7 separate regions of the Homo sapiens genome follow, and all the other regions are linked to region 3. Evidence: promoter capture Hi-C in 16 types of primary human blood cells and fetal thymus (Javierre and others, 2016). All regions are on one chromosome and are shown on one strand. The core of a region is centred on a gene start or on the middle of the fragment in contact, and the rest is flanking DNA. Distances in the headings are between cores, read along the strand shown. Region 1 has its middle 330 kb from the start of ANKRD30A. Region 2 has its middle 400 kb from the start of ANKRD30A. Region 3 holds the start of FZD8 (frizzled class receptor 8). Region 4 has its middle 410 kb from the start of ANKRD30A. Region 5 has its middle 350 kb from the start of ANKRD30A. Region 6 has its middle 260 kb from the start of ANKRD30A. Region 7 has its middle 380 kb from the start of ANKRD30A.

Region 1 (2,700 bases), core at 117-2,616, 1.2 Mb after region 3:
TTTGAGGTTTTATACTTTTCCTACAATTTGAACTGAATCCTGAGTTACTTCTTGGCAACAAAAAAGTCTCCAATGAAAAAAAGGGGTTTTAATCTTCATGATGTTCTCTAATGGAATAAGTCTTTTTTTTTTCATTCTGTAATCCTTGTGCACTATTCAATTTTTTTTTTTTTGTTTTCTTTTGAGTCAGAGTTTCACTCTTGTCGCCCAGGCTGGAATGCAATGGTGTGATCTCGGCTCACCGCAACCTCCGCCTCCCAGGTTTAAGCAATTCTCCTGCCTCAGTCTCCCTGGGATTATAGGCATGTGCCACCATGCCTGGCTAATTTTATATTTTTAGTAGAGATGGGGTTTCTCCATGTTAGTCAAGCTGGTCTCAAACTCCCAACCTCAGGTGATCTGCCTGCCTTGGCCTCCCAAAGTGCTGGGATTACAGGCGTGAGCCACTGCGCCCGGCCTCTACTATTCAAGTTATTAACGTTGTGTACCTCTCAATGTTTTACATCTTCTGATAAAATCAAAATCATGGTATTCAGAAGACTAGAGATGATTCAACCAAGCCTGTGAATCTCCCTCATTTAGAATCCCGCTGGGACCAGATCTGTTCTCCTTTGCCAGTGCACTGCTGCTGAAGCTATCCAGTATCAAGCACCCTCCCTCTAGACCCAGGGACTATCATAGAAGAGATGCGTGTGTGAGATTGTGTGGCCCAGTTTCAAGGGGTGAGAGTAGAAAAGCAGCCTGTTGCATGGCAAGACCAATGCCATTTGAAGTGAAACCACCATGATGAACAATGTTACACCCTTGCATGGTGCAACTTCACATGTGGCAAGGTCTTGAAACAATTCCTATAGCATATTCTGCCTCTCATAAAGATGCTTATCTAACCTCCCCAGGGGTCACAAGCCTTACAAGAACATCTGAGGCATGACCAGATGCACATGTTGGTACTCTTAAGAGCTTGCTATCTAAAGGGTACTTTCTAGAGGGTGGGTACAGGGATCCACCATCTCTCAGCCACCAGGGATATCACTTCTTTTCACAACTTCCTATTAAATACTTATTTTTTGATAAAAAAGTGCTTTTCTCTTTGGCAACAGATATTTATTAAGGATCTTCTACCAGTTCTAAATTGGGTAGGAAACAAAATATTAATCCAGAAATAGGTTTTCTTCCCTAAGATTTTACCCAGAACAATAAGCCCAAGTAAAGACAAAAGCTAGAGAGAAAATAGAAAAGCAATGAGTTTGATGGTCCTTCTCACTCAATAGATATTTAGTTAACACTTCTGAGTAGCCAGTCCTGCATGAAGTGCTTTGCATGGAAATACAAAAAGAAAGAAAATATAACTTCTATATTTGAAGAAGCAATAAACATGTTGTGCAAATTGAATAAACAAGTCTCTTCATACCTGGGTTGAGATACACACTTGGAAGTAATCAGCAAGCAGGTGGAATTTGCAGGGTTTCTGGTAAGAATTTGCAGAATGGTGAAAAGTGAAACCTGGGAATAAACACGAGCCACTAATGGAGCAGAGAGAGGTGAAGAGGAAGCAAGGAGAAGGACCTTAAAGAGTGCTGTTAAGTATGTATAACATTGATGATGACTGAACTGATTAAGCAGTTACTATCTGCCTGATAGGAAGTATATAGGCATCATTTTGTTTAATATTGAAACAATCTCATGAGGCAGGCACTATTATTATTATTCCATCCATTTTACAGACAACAGAACTGAGGCTTATGCAGCTTAAGTCATTTTTTCAAGGGTTTTCAAGTCACAAGGGCTGTTGTTAGTATGTGGTTGAATGAGGACTTTAGGGATGCCTACCCTAATTTCAGAATCCAAACTCAGAGGGTAGCCAAAAGTGCTGGGTGCTATAATGACATCTCATTGGGATGGGCTGAAAAGTGGCCATAGGGCTAGGCTATAAGAGTTGGCACAGTTTCTGCAGCAAGAAGGAGAAGAACACAAATGACAGTAGTGTGAAGATACAGGACATGAGATAAAGAGAGGATTCCATTATCATAACAGGCCTAATGAGCCACAGTAAAGCCCTAATTCACGAAACACCACACAGTGAAGAGAATGTCACTACCTGTTATTTAAATATCCTCTAAGAATGCTGAAAAATGATAAATGAAGAATGAAACTTATGAGGCTCAGTGGGACAAATTCTCTAAGCCATACTTTCTTCACTGAAATTGATTAATTTTCCTTAAGAAATGACATCATTCTCATGAGGTAATCTATGATTCGTTGGTCTAAGATAATCCAGTGGGCGACAAGGGTCATCTCTCAGTGGAAATCCTATGTTTCCATCTATACATTGCTCTATTTGATCAGTTCACTCTTTCTAAGTTCACCCTTTCCTGCATCTCCTGTCTTCTACTAGATTTTTATGCCAACTGGTATGACCATGTTTGAGGATTCCCTAATAATTAGACCAAGTGTGTCAACTCATGTACTTTTTTATCTCAAAAAGAATATATAAAGAATTTATCTTCTAATGAATATGTAGAAGAACTGTGAAAAATAAAACATACAAAATATACTATTACCATTTTATAGCATTTGTTTTGATACTTGAGTCACATCTAAGGCTAAACATAAAATCTCTGCTAAATACAGCAGAAGGCATAAGAAAATCTAGTTGAAAAGGAAACATAGTAAAAATACTAGTTAGATCCATAGAAGGTG
Region 2 (2,700 bases), core at 160-2,659, 1.1 Mb after region 3:
TATACCTGTAGAGGGAAAGAGGGAAGGAAGGCTGATTGGGGTAGAAAGAGACTGCAGCATGGTTCCAAGAATGCTTTGGCCAGGTCAGTGGGGACTCCTCAAATTAAAGTTGGCCATTGGAGAATCTCACAACTTACTGGCAAAGTCCTCACATACAATCCTCACTGTGCTCTATGACTGTGGAAACATGACTGCTGCACAAGTGTAGAAGTGAGTCCAGAGACAGACAGGGCTAAAGGAAGGCTGTCATTGACTTATGCTGTCCAAGTCAGGATATCTGCATTGCAAATTTCCATGGTCATTAAAATCCATTATCCCCACCTCCAAATCCCAACACTGCACAGACATATTTGTCCAAACACGTTCTTCATACCAGTGCTTCCAAAATTCCCATAAGCCTCTCTTTCCCAAGGGGAATCTTAGAAAAGGAAGGTTAATGAGCCCATGCTATAGCGATTGGTCTCAGAACTGCCTTTGAATGCCCAGTTGTGAGAGGGGAACAGAGAAAGAGAGAGTATAGGAGTGGGGAGAGTGTGTGTGTGTATCAGTGTGTGTATGTGTGTGTGTGTGTGTGTGTGTGTGTGAGAGAGAGAGAGAGAGAAAGATTATCTCTGCTTCTTTTGTGGAAAAGCAGCCCTACCTCCTCCTGCTAATCAGGGTGTATTCATCCTGCTGGATGGTGATGTATTTCTTGTCTTTTGGTTGCTGGACCTAAGGAATCTAAAGCATGCAACAGATAACCTTCTTTAGAGAGCAAGACTTGCCTGCCTTCCAGATCCCAGAGCTGCACTGATGAGAAGCATGGGAGAACCTTAGAAGATTATTGGGAACACTTGTAATTGGGGACATTCCTGTTTCTACCTCTTCTTTTCTGAACCTATAGATTCTTCCTATGAAGGAAGAATACCATATAAAGATCTGTGATGGAATATGTATAAAAGATGGTGCCCCCTGCATTCAGAATATCTCCTTTGGCATGGTGCTTCAGTTTCATCTTTAGAATGTTTCTACAGGGCTCCATGAGTCCAGCTGCTTCTTGAAGTGTGTATGTAATACAAATAGTAGATTACATGGTCATGGACCCACTTCTGCACATCCTTAACTGTGAACAGGGAACCCTGGTCAGATGCTATATCATGTGGGATTTTATGCCTGTGGATCAGGAATCCCGGAAGCCTCAGAAAAGTGGTCCTGGCTCAGGCTCTGTGAACAGAAGTGCCAAACCCTCTGAGGATGAACAGGTGGTCATTCAAAATCAAAAGACTTGTCATGTCAGAGTCTCAATATTGATTTACCTTGCTGAAAAGTAGGACAGTCAGAGGCAGCAGTAGTTAGATCAACCTTGATACATAGGAGTCCAGGCTATGGGGCCCATATGTATCGTCCATCTCTGCCAATGTGGTCATATGTGTGACTCCATATGTGTGACTCCATATGTGTGACTGTTGTGCTTACTGTGGGAAAGCCAATCTCCAAGGCTGGCAGCTTGTCAAGTCATTTTGTCTAATTGGTTATTGAGTGCCTCTTCTGTGGTGAGTGCTTTCTTTCTTTTTTTTTTTTGAGATGGAGTCTCTGTCTGTCTCCCAGGCTGCAGTGCAGTGGCGCTATCTCGGCTCACTGCAACCTCCGCCTCCTGGGTTGAAGCAATTCTCCTGCCTCAGCCTCCCAAGTAGCTGGGATTACAGGTGCCCACCACCACAGCCAGCTAATTTTTGTATTTTTAGTAGAGATGGGTTGGCCAGGCTGGTCTCGAACTCGTGACCTCAGGTGATCCGCCCGCCTCAGCCTCCCAAAGTCCTGGGTTTACAGGCATGAGCCACCCCGCCCAACCCCGAGTGCTTTCTTGTGAGTGTTAATGAGTGATACAAGATTCTTTACCCTCCATGCCTGCTCCTGCATGTCCACTCAGATGCTTCTAACCCGGCTTCCTTGTCTCAGATATTTCAGTTCTTTTCTATCTAAGCCTCTAACCAGATGATTCACCCACTGACCAGGGCAAAGAAATCTGTTTATATTCCTGCCTCAGGCCACGTTTCCTTCTATGTAAAGTAGATGGCTGGGGCTACTGCTCCCAGTGCTGCTAATTGGGAAGATTTTCACTTCCTTCTGTCTTCCAGAGTCACTCTTGCATTGGGCTGTAATGCAACTACACTTTTTTTTTTTTTTTTTTTTTTGAGACGGAGTCTCGCTCTGTCGCCCAGGCTGGAGTGCAGTGGCGCATCTCCACTCACTGCAAGCTCCGCCTCCTGGGTTCACGCCATTCTCCTGCCTCAGCCTCCTGCATAGCTGGGACTATGGGCGCCTGCCACCACGCCTGGCTAATTTTTTGTATTTTTTTTTAGTAGAGACGGGGTCTCACCGTGTTAGCCAGGATGGTCTCCATCTCCTGACATCGTGATCTGCCCGCCTCGGCCTCCCAAAGCGCTGGGATTACAGGCGTAAGCCACCGTGCCTGGCCGTAACTACACTTTTAAATAGAGATTTCCTCTTTCTCCCTCCTTTGGATGGCCACAGGGACACAAATGCAGACACAGGTGTGAGCTGAAGGAAGGTTGCTGGTGCAAACATGGTAGGTGACACAAGGATTTGGGTTACCTGCTATTCAATTTATTCACTTGCTGTTGTCTTGCTTGGCCTTTGTCTCATATTTCTGATTTCCACCTCACGATGAACTACTTCTTGCCCCTTCTCGTGTCATGA
Region 3 (2,700 bases), core at 165-2,664:
CCGTGGCCGCTGCCCGAAGGCGGCTGCTCGCCGGGCGGCGGCGGCGGCAGGCGGCGCGGCGGGCTGGGCGCGGCGGTGGTTAGGTCGGTGCGGTTGTAGTCCATGCACAGCGTGTCAGGGTTGCCTTGCTCGGGCAGCCGGTCGCAGCGCATGCGGTCGGGCCAGGCGAAGCCGTACTGGCGCATGAGCGGCGCGCAGCCGGCCTTGGCGCGCTCGCACACCGAGCGGCAGGGCGGCAGCGGCTTCTTGTAGTCCTCTAGGCAGATGGGCGTGTACATGCTGCACAGGAAGAACTTGAGATCGGGCGAGCACTGGATCTCCACCAGCGGCCAGAACTGGTGCACCTCCAGGCCCGCCTCGTCTTGCGTGTCGTGGTTGAACTGATTGGGCATGTAGGTGTAGTTGTAGCCGATGCCCTTACACAGCGGCACGGTGATCTCTTGGCATGCCAGCTCCTTGGCCGAGGCGGCCGCAGCGCCGCTAGAGCGCTGCAGCAGCGCCAAGGCGGCCAGCAGCGAGGTCACTTCCAACAGGTAACCCCACTCCATGCTGTGCGCCTCGGCCCGGTGCCCTCGCCCTCCAGGCGGCGCGCAGAGGGGTGCCGGGGGGGGGGCCCACGAGAGAGCCGCAGACGGGTACAGCGGGTGATCTGGGGTCTCCCTTATGCTTCGCCCGGGAGGGGGGTCTGCCGATAATCTAACCCCTTCTAGGGGCGCGTCCGCAGCGGCGCGGCCCGCAGCCTGGGCAGGGCCCTTCCGCACTCCTTTCCGCCGCTCCGGGGGTTTGAAGGCGGCTGCAGGCGCGCGCCACAGTCCGTAGGTCCGCTCTGCTGGCCCCGGGTCGCGCTCAGCCCTCGCGGCGCAGAGCGGCCGGGCCTCGGCTCATCGTCCCGCGCTCGCTCGCCTCCTCTCCGCGCGCCCGACCACTTCTCCCCGCCGCGCCGGGCGGCGGTGACTCCGCCGGACAGAGAGGGCGGAGGCGCCGCAAGTTTCCTCTGGGGCCGCGGTGCGCAGTCAAGATGGCTGGGCCGGGCCGCTTGCCGCGCCGGGTCAGCCCTGGCGGCCACCACTCGGCCCCCGGGGGCTCATGCCCGCCCCCAAGGCCAAGCCGCCGCCGCCGCCGCCGGAGTTGGGGACCCGCCTCGGCCCAGGCCGCCGCCCTCTTTCTCCGGCGTCCGTCCTTCGTCCGTCCGCCGCCGGGACAGACGGACCCCCGCCGCCTGGAAAAGTCAGCGCCGCGCTCCGGCCGCAGTCGGGCGAGGTGCACACAGTCTCCTTCCTGCTGGACACCCAGGAGCAAATCCAGACCGGAAGGCGGAGCGGACACCTGAGTGGCGCGGCCCGCGCCCAGCCGCCGCCTCCTCCTCGGCGGGAGCAGCGCCCTTAGCCCAACTTCCCGGCTCCAGCCCCGCTCGCGCCGCGCTGCCGGCTCATGAATATTTATACAGCGCGGACTCGGTCTCCGCCCCCAGCCCCGCGAGCCAATCGCCGGGCGGTAGGGCGGAGTCCACGCGCTCCCAGGGCTCAGCCTTCCTTAAGGCAGTCCCCGAGTGTCCGCACTGCTGTGCGCGCTCTCTGCGGATGGAGAGTTTTGGTAACCTTGGGATTGACCGCAGAGACAGAGTGTTGGCCATGGCTGTCCCCATGGCGCTGAGTGCGTCGGAGGTCTTGGTCCCCTTACCCCGAGTCTGCCCTTGGGGACAGGGACGGGGTTTGGTGCAGCGCGCGCCTCCCCGGCGCGTTTCAAACCAGCCAAGCCCCTGCTGCCACCCTCCGCAAATGTGGGTGATCTGCAGGCGGCTGGGGTCTCGTGCTCCTCGGGGCGGCAGGAAGGTCTCGCAGCAGGCGAGCGCCGGGGAGGCCTGCCGGGGCTCGGCGCTGCAGAAGACCCGGGAAAGGGTGTCCTCCTTGGGGTTCTCAGAACGATGGTTTCTGAGACTTGGAGATGTGGGGGGTGTGGAGTCATTCTAAACTGGGGCTGGACCCGGGACGGCCCGGGTGAGATGCCCCGGAGCCCAGCCTTGGGCGCGCGAGGGGCGCGGGGGACAAATGCCCGCCAGAGACTCTCCTCCCGCCTCCGCTGCGTGACCTGGGGGAGCCTCAGTTTCCCCACCTAGAGAGTTGGGTGATCATAGCACAGATCTCCAAGGGGGCTTTGATAATTAGGTGAGATAAAATATAGGAAGCCCCGAGCCGCCGTGCTTTCTTAGGAAAAATCATTCAATTTCTTTCTAAAATTCAAAACAAACCTCGAAACTTATAAATAGGACAGGCTGGAAACTCTGGGGCTGGATTCCCTGTCTTCCCTTCGTTCTTTCAGGACGTCTATTCATCCATCCCAAGTTCACAGGCTTTTGCCAGAGCCTCCTTTTCTCTGGTGGGAGGCGGCGCTGCGCTCTGGCGTGGACTCCGCGACACGTATCTGCTCTCTGCACGAGGCCGGAGCCGGACCCGGGCTGCTTTTAGCAGCCGCTTGGGCCACCGCCAGCGAACGCTGCCCCCGCCGGCTCCGCCGCCACCTTAAGACGGGCCGGGAGGGGGGCTGCGGGCGGCCCGGGCCGGCGGCCTGGCAGGTTCATTTACGCTTGTTAGGGCGTCCCAGGGGGCTGTCTTTCTCCTAGAATGGAGTGTTTATTTTTTAATTGATGTGCTGTTTCATTTAGCGCTTGTATGGAACTCATGCTGGGGCAGTAATTACTGT
Region 4 (2,700 bases), core at 1-2,500, 1.1 Mb after region 3:
AGGGCCAGGGACAAGGTTGTGTGGCCTGTGCAGTTGCAAAGGACTCCATACTGAGAAGGCCTCTGCATTTGGTATCAGCTTTCTGGGAGTGTCTAGAAATACTAAATAAATTTTGAACAAGGGACTTGCATTTTCATTTTCTGGGGGACCCTGCAAACACACAACTGGTTATCCCAGTGAAGCTCAGAGTACTATGGACCCTATGGAAATCTACATTCACTCTCAAAGCATATCATCCAATGAGCACTGTACTGCCCTGCAACATAGGAGAAAGCAGCGTGAGGAGGTACTATCTATACATGCCTTTTTAACAATTTTGGCCTTTAGACCATTTATAAACCAGTAAGCCAGTCAGAGAATGTAAACTCTGCTACCAATCTGGCATTTCTAAACATATCTTGTTTTTAAAAGGATTCAATGGGAGTTTTCCACTTGGGCTACAGTGAAGTAATTTGTAGCAAGCAGCATCACTACCAAGAACAGCTGGAATAGCAGAAAAAATTTAAACATACAGATGTTTGAAAACATCTGAGAGCTACTGAGGCAGCCGGTATCTGAAAGGAGGGAAAGGAGAACTGCAGAGAAATAAATTCAATATTCAATATGGCTTTTCTTTCTTTTTCAAACTTTTGAGAACACTTGCCAAATTTGTGTATAGGGCAAAGCAGCTGAGAATTGTTATAGAGGGCTACTGCTAAGAGAAAAATAATGATCAGAGATTCATCAATCTGACCATTTTGAAGAAATAAAAATCACATGGCAGGACTGTCAAGGAATTCAGAATTTGTGAAGTCAAGATCCTGGAGAGAGGAAGAGTTAAAAGAAGGCAGTCCTGTCTGATGTTAAAGCATTTGCTGCATTTTTAAGCTCCATGGGGCAAAAAACTAAGATGACAAGCAGTGAGTCAGTGACAATCAGAGTATACAGCTGTCCATAGTCCTGATGTGGAAAAAAAACAAAGTGGAGTTTGAGAGTAAGCAAGGGCTTAAAGACCATAGGTAATACCCAAAGCTTTAAGTTAGGACACCAGTAACAGGAGAAGGGATGGAAAGAGGAAGATGAAACCTTATAAAACTGGAAACCAGGCTTGAGTGAGCTCCATCTTTGACTGGATTATGGTAATCGGCTCCCCTGGCTGAGCTGCTTACCAGAAGATGGGGTGAAGACTTTGTGGAAGAAGAAAACATTATTCAGAGGGGCTACAGATCTTCATAGCAATTTCTAGAATTTAATAAATAATTAGAGATAAAAGCAAAAAAATATAAATAGGAACACAAGTGAAGGAAATATTGAAGTTGTCAGACATATACTTTAAAAACACCATTAAACATGTTCAATTAGAAAGATGACAAAAGGGGTTGTTTCTTGTAGAGTTGTTTGAGTTCTTTGTAGATTCCAGATATTAGACTTTTGTTGGATGCATAGGTTGCAAATATCCTGTCCCAATCTGTAGACTGTTTACTCTGTTGATTACATCTTTTTCTGTTCAGAAGCTTTTTAGTTTAATTAAGTCCCATGTATTTGTCTACTTTTGCTTCCGTTGCATTTGCTTTTGAAGTAATAGTCATGAATTATTTTGCCTAGGATAATATCCAAAAGAATTTTTCCCAGGTTTTCTTCTAGGACTTTTACAGTTTCAGGTCTTACATTTAAGCCTTCAATCCATCTTGAGTTAATTTTTGTATATGGTGAGGGATATGGGTCCAGTTTCATTCTTCTGCAGGTGGCTAGCCAGCTTCCCCAGTGTAACGTACTGATTAGGGTGTTGCTTCCCAGGGTATGTTTTTGTCTACTTCGTCAAAGATCAGTTCACTGTACGCACGTGCCTCTATTTCTGGATTCCCTCTGTTCCATTGATCTATGTCTCTTATTTATATACCAGTACCAGGCTGTTTGGGTTACTACAGCTTTGTAATACAATTTGAAGCCAGGTAATGTGCTGCCCCAGCTTTGTTCTTTTTGTTTAGGGTTGTCTTTTCTAAGTCTTTGAAAAATTATGTTTGTATTTTGATTGGGATTGCACTGAATCTGTAGATTGAAAAGTGAGCACGGGAAATGAACAGACGTTTTTTCAAAAGAAGACATGCAAGGAGCCAACAAGCACATGAAAACATGCTCAGCATCACAGATAATCAGAGAAACTCAAATTAAAACCACAATGAGATACTATCTTACACCAGTCAGAATGGCTATCATTAAAAAGTCAAAAAATAAGAGATGCTGGTGAGGGTGCAGAGAAGAAGGAACACTTGGCATGCTGTTGGTGGGATGTAAATGAGTACAACCTCTACAGAAACAGTATGGATTTGTCAAAGAACTAAACACAGATCCATCATTTGATATAATAATCCCACTACTGCATATCTACCCAAAAGAAAAGAAAAAATTATATCAAAAGACATCAGCACTTGTATGTTTATTGCTGCACTATTCACAATAACAAAGATAGAGAATAAACCTAAACACCCATCAAGGTGGACCGGATAAGGAAAAGGCAATATACCTATATATATTCGTATTTGTGATTATACATTACATAAACACTTTATTTATAATATATAATTGTATAATTGTATAAATTCATATATACTATTAAATATATAATGTAATTACATATATATATAATGTGTATGTATATACACATCAACGACTACTACTCAGCCATAAAAAGGAATAAAATCATGCCTTTTGCAGCAACAT
Region 5 (2,700 bases), core at 7-2,506, 1.1 Mb after region 3:
TTCTCACACTTGGTCCAAATAAAGAGAAAAGTTACTAAACTCAGGAGCCTTCTGTAAGTTGATGATAATTCACAAGTGATTTGAAGTATTTGCATTTACACTATTGAGATGGCACAGAAATGACACCAAGAATGAAGACTCGATGACTTTTCTTACTGTGGGGCACAGATACGAGTCTGATTTAACTTTTCTCAGAAACGGATCTTCTGGCCTATTTAAACTTTATTCGGAGACTAACAAAGAGCAGCTGAAAATCTTCCTCTTTAGAAAAGATGGAGAAAAAAAACAGGAATGAATCACATAGCATCGTCATTATGGGCATATTAACTCCCTATGACAGGGAAATATGGGTCCCTTAAACTACCTCAAAAGCTTTAGCAAACTGTGACTTAACAGCAGATGTTTAGCTGTGAATTTAACTTGTCATCTTTAAAGACAGTATTTAATTGTTTCCCTTCATTCAGGCAACAAATAGCTCTTTTAGGAAGGAAGGGCAATGTTACTCACATTCTTTCTACCAAAAAATGTTGTTATTCTTATTTTGTTTTAGCAGAAGATATCAATCAATGTTGGTCATGGTAGCCATGTGTCTATGTGAAAACAATTAGGATAGCAAGAACCATTAATGCTTTTCTCTTATCTGGGCATTCAATTAATCTAATGATGTCATCAACAAAGACAGAGAGATGAAGAATGAAAAACTCTAAATTTGAGCTCTTGCTGGCAATATAGTTTTAAATATTTCTATACAAAATAAACAACCTCTAAAATGGCAGCTTCAACTTAATCTCCATAAACCTTTTTCTTATATGACAATATCCTACGATTCAACTCTTGGTTATTTAGGTTCTTATTTTGTATACAATGTGTTCTTTTCAGCTATTCATTATGCCATTTTTAGAAGATAAAATGGAATAGAAAAAAAATTGTTGGATTTTCTGTATTGCTGTAATTAGTGATGATTAACTAATTTGAAAAGTACTCTAAAATGAGAATTTTACATCAATCGGTTCACTTTACTAATAATCTTATTTCTTTTAAAAAATATGTGTGGGTTTGCCTTCCCTAAGCATGGTTCTAAGGGCTTTGTATGTTAATTAATCCTAATAAACATGCTTCCGTTAGAGGCTGTGATTATGAACATTTTTCAGATAAATTTAAAAAATGGGTTAAAAAAATGTAAGTAACTTATTCAACATACAAAGCTCATACATCATAGAGCCAGAATTTGAAATCAGGTACTAGAGCTCAAAAGTTCTGAACTTTCCAGGAATGTGAGACCAGCCTGGGCAACATAGTGAGACCCCATTTCTACAAAAACAAATATTAAAAATTAGTCAGGCATGGTGGTACACTCCTATATTCTCAACTACTCAGGAGGCCGAGGCAGGGGGATCACTTGAGTTTAGGAGTTTGAGGCTATAGTGAGCTATGATGATCATACTTGCATTCTAGCCTTCGTGACAGAGCAAGAGCTTGTCTCTTAAAAAAAAAATATTTGGAGGTTTTAACCCAGATTTTTTTTTTTTTTTTTTTTTTTTTTTTTTTTGAGACAGAGTCTCACTCTGTCACCAGGCTGGAATACAATGGCACGATCTCGGCTCACTGCAACCTCCACCTTCCAGGTTCAAGCGTTTCTCCTCCCTCAGCTTCCCAAGTAGCTGGGATTACAGGCACCAGCCACCACGCCTGGCTAATTTTTTGTATTTTTAGTACAGATGGGGTTTCACTATGTTGGCCAGGCTGGTCTCAACCGCCTCACCTCGTGATCCACCTGCCTCAGCCTCCCAAAGTGCTGGGATTACAGGCTTAAGCCACTGCACCTGGCCTAATTTTTGTATTTTTAGTAGAGACGGGGTTTCACCATGTTGGCCATGATGGTCTTGATCTCCTGACCTCGTGATCCACCTGCCTCTGCCTTCCGTGAGTTTTATTTTATTTGTAATTGCTCTGTCTTTTTCATCCTTTAATATTCAACATTTCTTTGTTCTTGTTTTATATATATCTTTTATAAATAGTAATTACATGATCTTTAAAAACAAATCTGATAGTGTTTGTATTTGAGCTGGCAAATTCAGTCATTAACAGTTTTGGTGATTACTGATTACTGATATATTATGATTTTTTTACCATCTTACTTTAAGCTTAACATATGTCTTACTTTTCTTAGCTTGTTATTTCTTGTTTTATTCTTGCTTTGTTATTTCTTGAACTCTGTTTTGCTTGTTTTTGTATTTCATTGTCTTTAAAAACCTAACGATTTATGTGTGTCATCTTCAATTTCTTTCTTCAGTGTTTTGTGGTTTTCCTTGTAGAGGCTTTTCACCTCTTTGTTTAAATTTATTCGTAGGTTTTGTTTGTTTGTTTGTTTAAATAAGATTACTTTGGGCTTTTTAATTTGTCTTTTGTAGCTATTGTAAGCAGGATTACCTTCTTGATTTCTTTCTCAGATTATTATTGGGTTATAGAAATGCTACTGAATTTGTAGGTAGATTTTGTATCCTGAAACTTGACTGAATTCATTTGTAAAATCTAAGCTTTTTTGATGGGAGTTTCTAGGTTTTTCCAGATAAGATTGCATCATCAGCTATGTAGGCATTGCGTTTTTTAATTTTATGTGAATAATATTTATTTGGATTTATATATGTTTACCATTTGCTTTGCTCTCTATTCCGCCTTACATCTCAGACCTTCCTTCCA
Region 6 (2,700 bases), core at 81-2,580, 1.2 Mb after region 3:
ATCTCTACTAAAAATACAAAAAAATTAGCCGGAAGTGATGGTGGGCGCCTGTAGTCCCGGCTACTCAGGAGGCTGAGGCAGGAGAATGGTGTGAACCCAGAAGGCAGAGCTTGCCGTGAGCAGAGATTGCGCCACTGCACTCCAGCCTGGGCGACAGAGCGATACTCTGTCTCAAAATAAATAAATAAATAAATAAATAAATAAATAAATAAATAAATAAATAACAGAAGAATTATACATAATCTATGTATGGATATTATATATATTTACATCACAAGCATTTTTCTGAAAAATATATTTTTTCTCAGCATGATATTTTAAAATTTGTTTTAAATACAACTTTCTGTAAGCTCCTTCAAAGTTACATCTTATGGCTCCTAAATTTGTAACTAGATACTTTCCACATACCCTTATTTCTACATTATCAATTTTTAATTGAAAAAATATTCCTTTTTCCCCTCGAAATAAAGGCTGAATTGTTCCGTATGTTCAGAGCAAATTATCCTAAAGGAAGATTATACCCAATTGTATTGAAATGTGTAATAATGACAAATATGTTCACAAAAAGAGCAAATACATTCACAAGTGTTGTATTTTTACCTCCATTCAGCGACTTTTCTTCAAATATCTTCCAAGTAAATCTGTCAAGTAAGTTGTATGTTTCATACAACTTTGTAATTTTCCTAAACTAAATTAAGATGCTTCAGAATCATAGGGCTTCTCAAGTCCGTTCCATTTCCTTACAGAATATAAGACATTCACGTAAAAAGTAATGTACATCAAGTGCTTATACAAGAAATATTTTTAACTTTGACAATTAAAGGTTCCATCTTCATTAGAATATCACCAGTTCTTTGAACACCATGATGAGCCGTTTTATACCATGAACACTTCTGCTCCCTGGGTTTCTTTTGATTGATTTAAAAAAAAAAAGTGTTTTGTTTTTGTTTTTTTTTTTGAGACGAAGTCTTGTTCTGTCTCCCAGGCTGCAGTGCAGTGGCACGATCTTGGCTCACTGCAACCTCCACTTCCCAGGTTCAAATGATTCTCCTGCCTCAGCCTTCTGAGTAGCTGGGATTACAGGCCCACGCCACCAAGCCTGGCTAAATTTTGTATTTTTTTAGTAGAGATGGGGTTTCACCATGTTGTCGTGGCTGGTCTCAAACTCATGACCTTGTGATCCGCCCGCCTTGGCCTCCCAAAGTGCTGGGATTACAGGCGTGAGCCACTGCGCCTGGCCTGTTTTTTACCATGATACTTTTGGAAACTAAATTTACAGTGGCATCCAAAATAATGTCAGGAGTTTCACCATTTACAGGATGAAAAGCTAAACTTTGATTCCATAAAAAGGATTAAAAGTAATCTATTATTAGAATTAACTGCTCTTTTATTTGAAGCATCTGCTGACACCAGTATGGCAGTGACATTATTTAACAGTGTGAACAATTCTCTTTGTGGTACCCCAGACAACCTCTTACAGCTATCACTTAATTTTTTATATGCAAAGAATTTACAATCTAAAATGAACAAAATTAATTTAGAGAAACAGTCAATCTAAATAAATGTAAAACATTTTTTGCAGTGTAATAGGTAAATGTACTTTTCATATCTTCATGTTTTACATTGTTTATAGGCATAGGTTCCTTAAAATAACTATCAAATGTTCAAGTTTATGATAATACTTTTTTAGGAGACATGTGTCTTCTGTGTTTATATGGTCAGTGATATCACTATAGACCCATAGTTGATGAGGCTATAAACATTTTATGTAGGTTATATATTTATCATCTGGTTTCTTGAGAATGGAAATCCAGTTATGTGTCTATTTTCAAACCAAAATGTACTTTTTGCATTTCTACTGCAAGGATTATTGCAAAAAATGTTACAAACAATAAAATAAATAATTACAGATTTTTTCTACACAGAGTCACTATAGCGAGGTCTTCTTTGCCTGCATTTGTTTTCTTGCACTTAACCTGTAGTTTCCCAGGTGTCCCTCTGAGCAGTCCACCTGGCCTTGTGCATCTCCCAGGCCCTAGCAATGACCATGGCACCAACAGCCGAGGTGAGCTGATGTTCAGCTATGGGAGCATCAGGGACGGCAGCTGACTTTCCCACGTCCACCCAAGCGTTGAAGGATTCTGCTATCCCAGGCATTGGTGTCAGCACACAACCTCATTACAGCCACAGGCACCCTACATGAGGCCAGTGACACTGAGATGCTAGGTCTGTTTGGAAAAGAGGGGCAGAAGCCAGAAGTGAGAAGGGGCAGTATCCAAATCCACCCCAGTGCATTTTAAGGCAGCAGTTAAATATTATAGTTTATTTTAAGTGAGAAAACATCAATATTCATGCTAAATGGACAGGAAGTGGTTCAACAGCTATAAACCAAGACTGTGCAGGACATGCAAGTTATGACATTTTTTAGGACTTAGATGAAAGGAGGTTCTTATCTTGCATTATTTCAAGGTACTGATGGGGCAGATGACATGTCTTTGTTATTGGCAACAAAAAAGAGTGCCTTTTTTGGTATTTGTCCCAAAGCCTTTTTTGAGAGAGCCTCTTCCACCCTTTAAGTATGCTCTTTAGGAATTAATCTAGCCATGACTCCCAGGGTTTAAAGCTCACGGGGTTTCTCCTAATCCATGCCCCTGTAGGACATTTCATCAGGAGCCTCCACTTACCTAGTTAAGTGGCTTG
Region 7 (2,700 bases), core at 48-2,547, 1.1 Mb after region 3:
AAGTGCGTGCCACCATGTCCAGCTAGTTTTAGTATTTTCAGTAGAGACTGGGTTTCATCTTGTTGGCCAGGATGGTCTTGATCTCTTGACCTGGTTATCCACCCGCCTCAGCCTCTCAAAGTGCTGGGATTACAAGCGTGAGCCACCATGCCTGAACATAATTTCTGTATGGCATGATTAAAGAGTTCTGGAAATGGACAGTGGTAAAGATTGCCTAATATGGTGAATGTAACGCCCTCTGAACTGTACATTTAAAACTTACTAAAGTGTAGAGCTAATGAAGAAATATGGGGCACACCAAAAGAGCCTTAATTCTTTTTTTTTGTTGTTGTTGTTGTTGTAACAGAGTTTTGCTTTTGTTGCCCAGGCTAGAGTGCAATGGTGCCATCTCGGCTCACTGCAGCCTCCGCCTCCTGGGTTCAAGGGATTCTCCTGCCTCAGTCTCCCGAGTAGCTGGGAATACAGGCATGTGCTACCACAACCAGCTAATTTTGTATTTTTAGTGCAGACAGGGTTTCTCCACATTGGTAAGGCTGGTCTCAAATTCCCGACCTCAGGTGATCTGCCCACCTAGGCCTCCCAAAGTGCTGGGATTACAGGCATGAGCCATCATGCCTGGCCAGAGCCTAGTTTCTTTTAGCATCACTCATTTTATAAGTCAAAAATTGTCATGATTTTTCTAGACATCACCTAGGAAATCTAAAAAATACTTCTTTTTCCCTAAAAATCAGAAAATATTTACTTTTTAGAATTTAAGATATAATTTCAGATGGGCAAAAATACAAAGTGTTATCAGAGGAGATTTGGTCACTATGACTAAGATAGGAATACAGGTGCAGAGAGGAAAATAGTGGCAATAATCACAATGACAATACAATATTCTAAAATAAGCATAGAAAAAGATATCATAATTTTTAGAAAATGTATCCCTTTCATAATGAATTACTTACGCTGTACAAATGTTTTTCCCTGATTTTTCTTTCTAGCTTCATTGAAGTATGATTGATAAATAAAAATTGCACATATTTAAGGTATATAATATGATGTGATGTATGTATACATTGTGAAGTAATAGCCACTGTCAACATTTTCATCAACTTACAAAGTTGCACTTTCTCTGTGTGTGTCTGTGTGTGTTTGTATGGGAATACGTAAGACCTACCCTGTTAGCAAAGTTCAAGTATACAATACATTCTTATCAGCTGTAGACACTATGCTATATATTAGGTCCCCGGAATGTATTAATCTTTTAACTAAAAGCATAAGATAAAAGCATAAGCATAAATTTAAACTAATGAGTTTAAATTTTTTAGATTTCACAGATAAGTTCGATTATGAAGCATATTTGTTTTTCTGTGTCTGGCTTATTTCACTTAGCATTATGTTCTCCTGTTCCATCAATACTGTCACAAATAGTAGTAGTTCCTTCTTTTTTAAGGCTGAATAATATTCCATTGCATGTATATGCCACATTTTCTTTATCCACTAATCTGTAATAAAGGCTATCATTCAAAATACACAAGAAAACCTTCAAATTTCATAAGAAAGCAAATAATTCAATTAAAAAATGAGAAAATATAAATGAACAAGTCACTGAAGAAAATATAAAAATGGCAAGTTAAGTATTTGAAAATATATTCAACAACATATTGAGAGGTGACAGTGTGCTGGCAGCCCTCACTCGCTCCTGGTGACTCCTCAGCCTTGGTGCCCACTCTGGCCATGCTTGAGGAGCCCTTCAGTCTGCTGCTGCACTGTGGGAGCCCCTCTCTGGGCTGGCCGAGGCCGGAGCCGGCTCCCTCTGCTTGCAGGGAGGTGTGGAGGGAGAGGTGCCAGCAGGAACCAGGGCTGCCCACGGCACTTGCAGGCCAGTGTGAGTTCTGGGTGGGTGTGGCTCGGCAGGCCCTGCACTCAGAGCAGCCGACTGGCGCCACTGGCCCTGAGCAGTGAGGGGCTTAGCACTTGGGCCAGCAGCTGCAGTGGGTGCGCCAGGTCCCCCAGCACTGCTGGCCCTCCCACACCACGCTCGAGTTCTCACCAAGCCTCAGCCACCTCCCCATGGGGCAGGGCTTGGGACCTGCAGCCTGCCATGCCCAAGCCACCCACCCCACCCCCCATGGGCTCCCATGCAGCCCAAGCCTCCCTGACAGGTTCCACCTGCTGCTCTGCGGCGCCCAGTCCCATTGACTGCCCAAGGGCTGAGGAGTGTGGGCGCACTGCGTGGGACTGGCGGGCAGCTCTGCCCATGGCCCCGACATGGGATCCACTAGGCGAAGCCAGCTGGGCTCCTGAGTGGAGTGGGGTCTTGGAGAACTTTTATGTCTAGCTGGAGGTTTGCAAATGCACCAATGAGCACTCTGTGTCTAGCTCGGGGTTTGTGGACACACCAATCAGCACTCTGTGTCTAACTAAAAGTTTGTAAATGCACCAATCAGTGCTCTGTGTCTAGCTAACCTAGTGGAGACTTGGAAAACTGTTATGTCTAGCTAGAGGATTATAAATGCACCAATCAGCACTCGGTGTCTAGCTCAGGGATTGTAAACACACTAATCAGCACCCTGTCAGAACAGACCAGTCAGCTCTCTGTAAAATGGACCAATCAGTGCTCTTTAAAATGGACCAATCAGCAGGATGTGGGTGGGGCCAGATAAGGGAATAAAAGCAGGCTGCCAGAGCCCAGTGCACAACCTGCTCCTGTTC

Evidence for each region. The method cuts DNA at HindIII sites, captures the fragments that hold promoters and counts their contacts. A CHiCAGO score of 5 or more calls a contact.
Region 1: a fragment that was not itself captured here is called in contact with the fragment with the promoter of FZD8 in region 3 in 4 of 17 cell types (endothelial precursors, total B cells, M1 macrophages and 1 more); the score reaches 11.1 in endothelial precursors.
Region 2: a fragment that was not itself captured here is called in contact with the fragment with the promoter of FZD8 in region 3 in 2 of 17 cell types (naive B cells and total B cells); the score reaches 12.4 in naive B cells.
Region 4: a contact is called between a fragment that was not itself captured here and the fragment with the promoter of FZD8 in region 3, in 1 of 17 cell types (naive B cells). The highest score is 6.8, in naive B cells.
Region 5: a fragment that was not itself captured here is called in contact with the fragment with the promoter of FZD8 in region 3 in 8 of 17 cell types (endothelial precursors, naive B cells, total B cells and 5 more); the score reaches 22.5 in endothelial precursors.
Region 6: a fragment that was not itself captured here is called in contact with the fragment with the promoter of FZD8 in region 3 in 6 of 17 cell types (erythroblasts, M2 macrophages, total B cells and 3 more); the score reaches 8.1 in erythroblasts.
Region 7: a fragment that was not itself captured here is called in contact with the fragment with the promoter of FZD8 in region 3 in 4 of 17 cell types (naive B cells, total B cells, endothelial precursors and 1 more); the score reaches 7.0 in naive B cells.

Annotation. Positions count from the first base shown.
Region 1 is chr10:36,792,947-36,795,646 of GRCh38, forward strand. No RefSeq gene overlaps it. Among named protein-coding and RNA genes, the nearest start is that of ANKRD30A, 330 kb to the right of the region's middle. The HindIII fragment of the contact is 2,997 bases long and covers 1-2,700 here.
Region 2 is chr10:36,728,545-36,731,244 of GRCh38, forward strand. No RefSeq gene overlaps it. Among named protein-coding and RNA genes, the nearest start is that of ANKRD30A, 400 kb to the right of the region's middle. The HindIII fragment of the contact is 8,119 bases long and covers 1-2,700 here.
Region 3 is chr10:35,640,882-35,643,581 of GRCh38, forward strand. It overlaps FZD8 (frizzled class receptor 8), which reads right to left and starts at 1,415. Exons shown (of 1, transcript NM_031866.3): 1 at 1-1,415. The coding sequence starts at 548. It overlaps LOC124902528 (zinc finger protein 469-like), which reads right to left and starts at 1,965. Exons shown (of 2, transcript XM_047426128.1): 1 at 1,749-1,965; 2 at 847-1,532. The coding sequence starts at 1,965. The coding sequence ends at 847. It overlaps MIR4683 (microRNA 4683), which reads right to left and starts at 371; the gene lies at 291-371. LOC105376494 (a long non-coding RNA gene) reads left to right here and starts at 2,434. Exons shown (of 2, transcript XR_930820.3): 1 at 2,434-2,700. The HindIII fragment of the contact is 11,239 bases long and covers 1-2,700 here.
Region 4 is chr10:36,711,988-36,714,687 of GRCh38, forward strand. No RefSeq gene overlaps it. Among named protein-coding and RNA genes, the nearest start is that of ANKRD30A, 410 kb to the right of the region's middle. The HindIII fragment of the contact is 482 bases long and covers 1,010-1,491 here.
Region 5 is chr10:36,771,276-36,773,975 of GRCh38, forward strand. No RefSeq gene overlaps it. Among named protein-coding and RNA genes, the nearest start is that of ANKRD30A, 350 kb to the right of the region's middle. The HindIII fragment of the contact is 1,772 bases long and covers 371-2,142 here.
Region 6 is chr10:36,864,333-36,867,032 of GRCh38, forward strand. No RefSeq gene overlaps it. Among named protein-coding and RNA genes, the nearest start is that of ANKRD30A, 260 kb to the right of the region's middle. The HindIII fragment of the contact is 6,428 bases long and covers 1-2,700 here.
Region 7 is chr10:36,746,490-36,749,189 of GRCh38, forward strand. No RefSeq gene overlaps it. Among named protein-coding and RNA genes, the nearest start is that of ANKRD30A, 380 kb to the right of the region's middle. The HindIII fragment of the contact is 6,155 bases long and covers 1-2,700 here.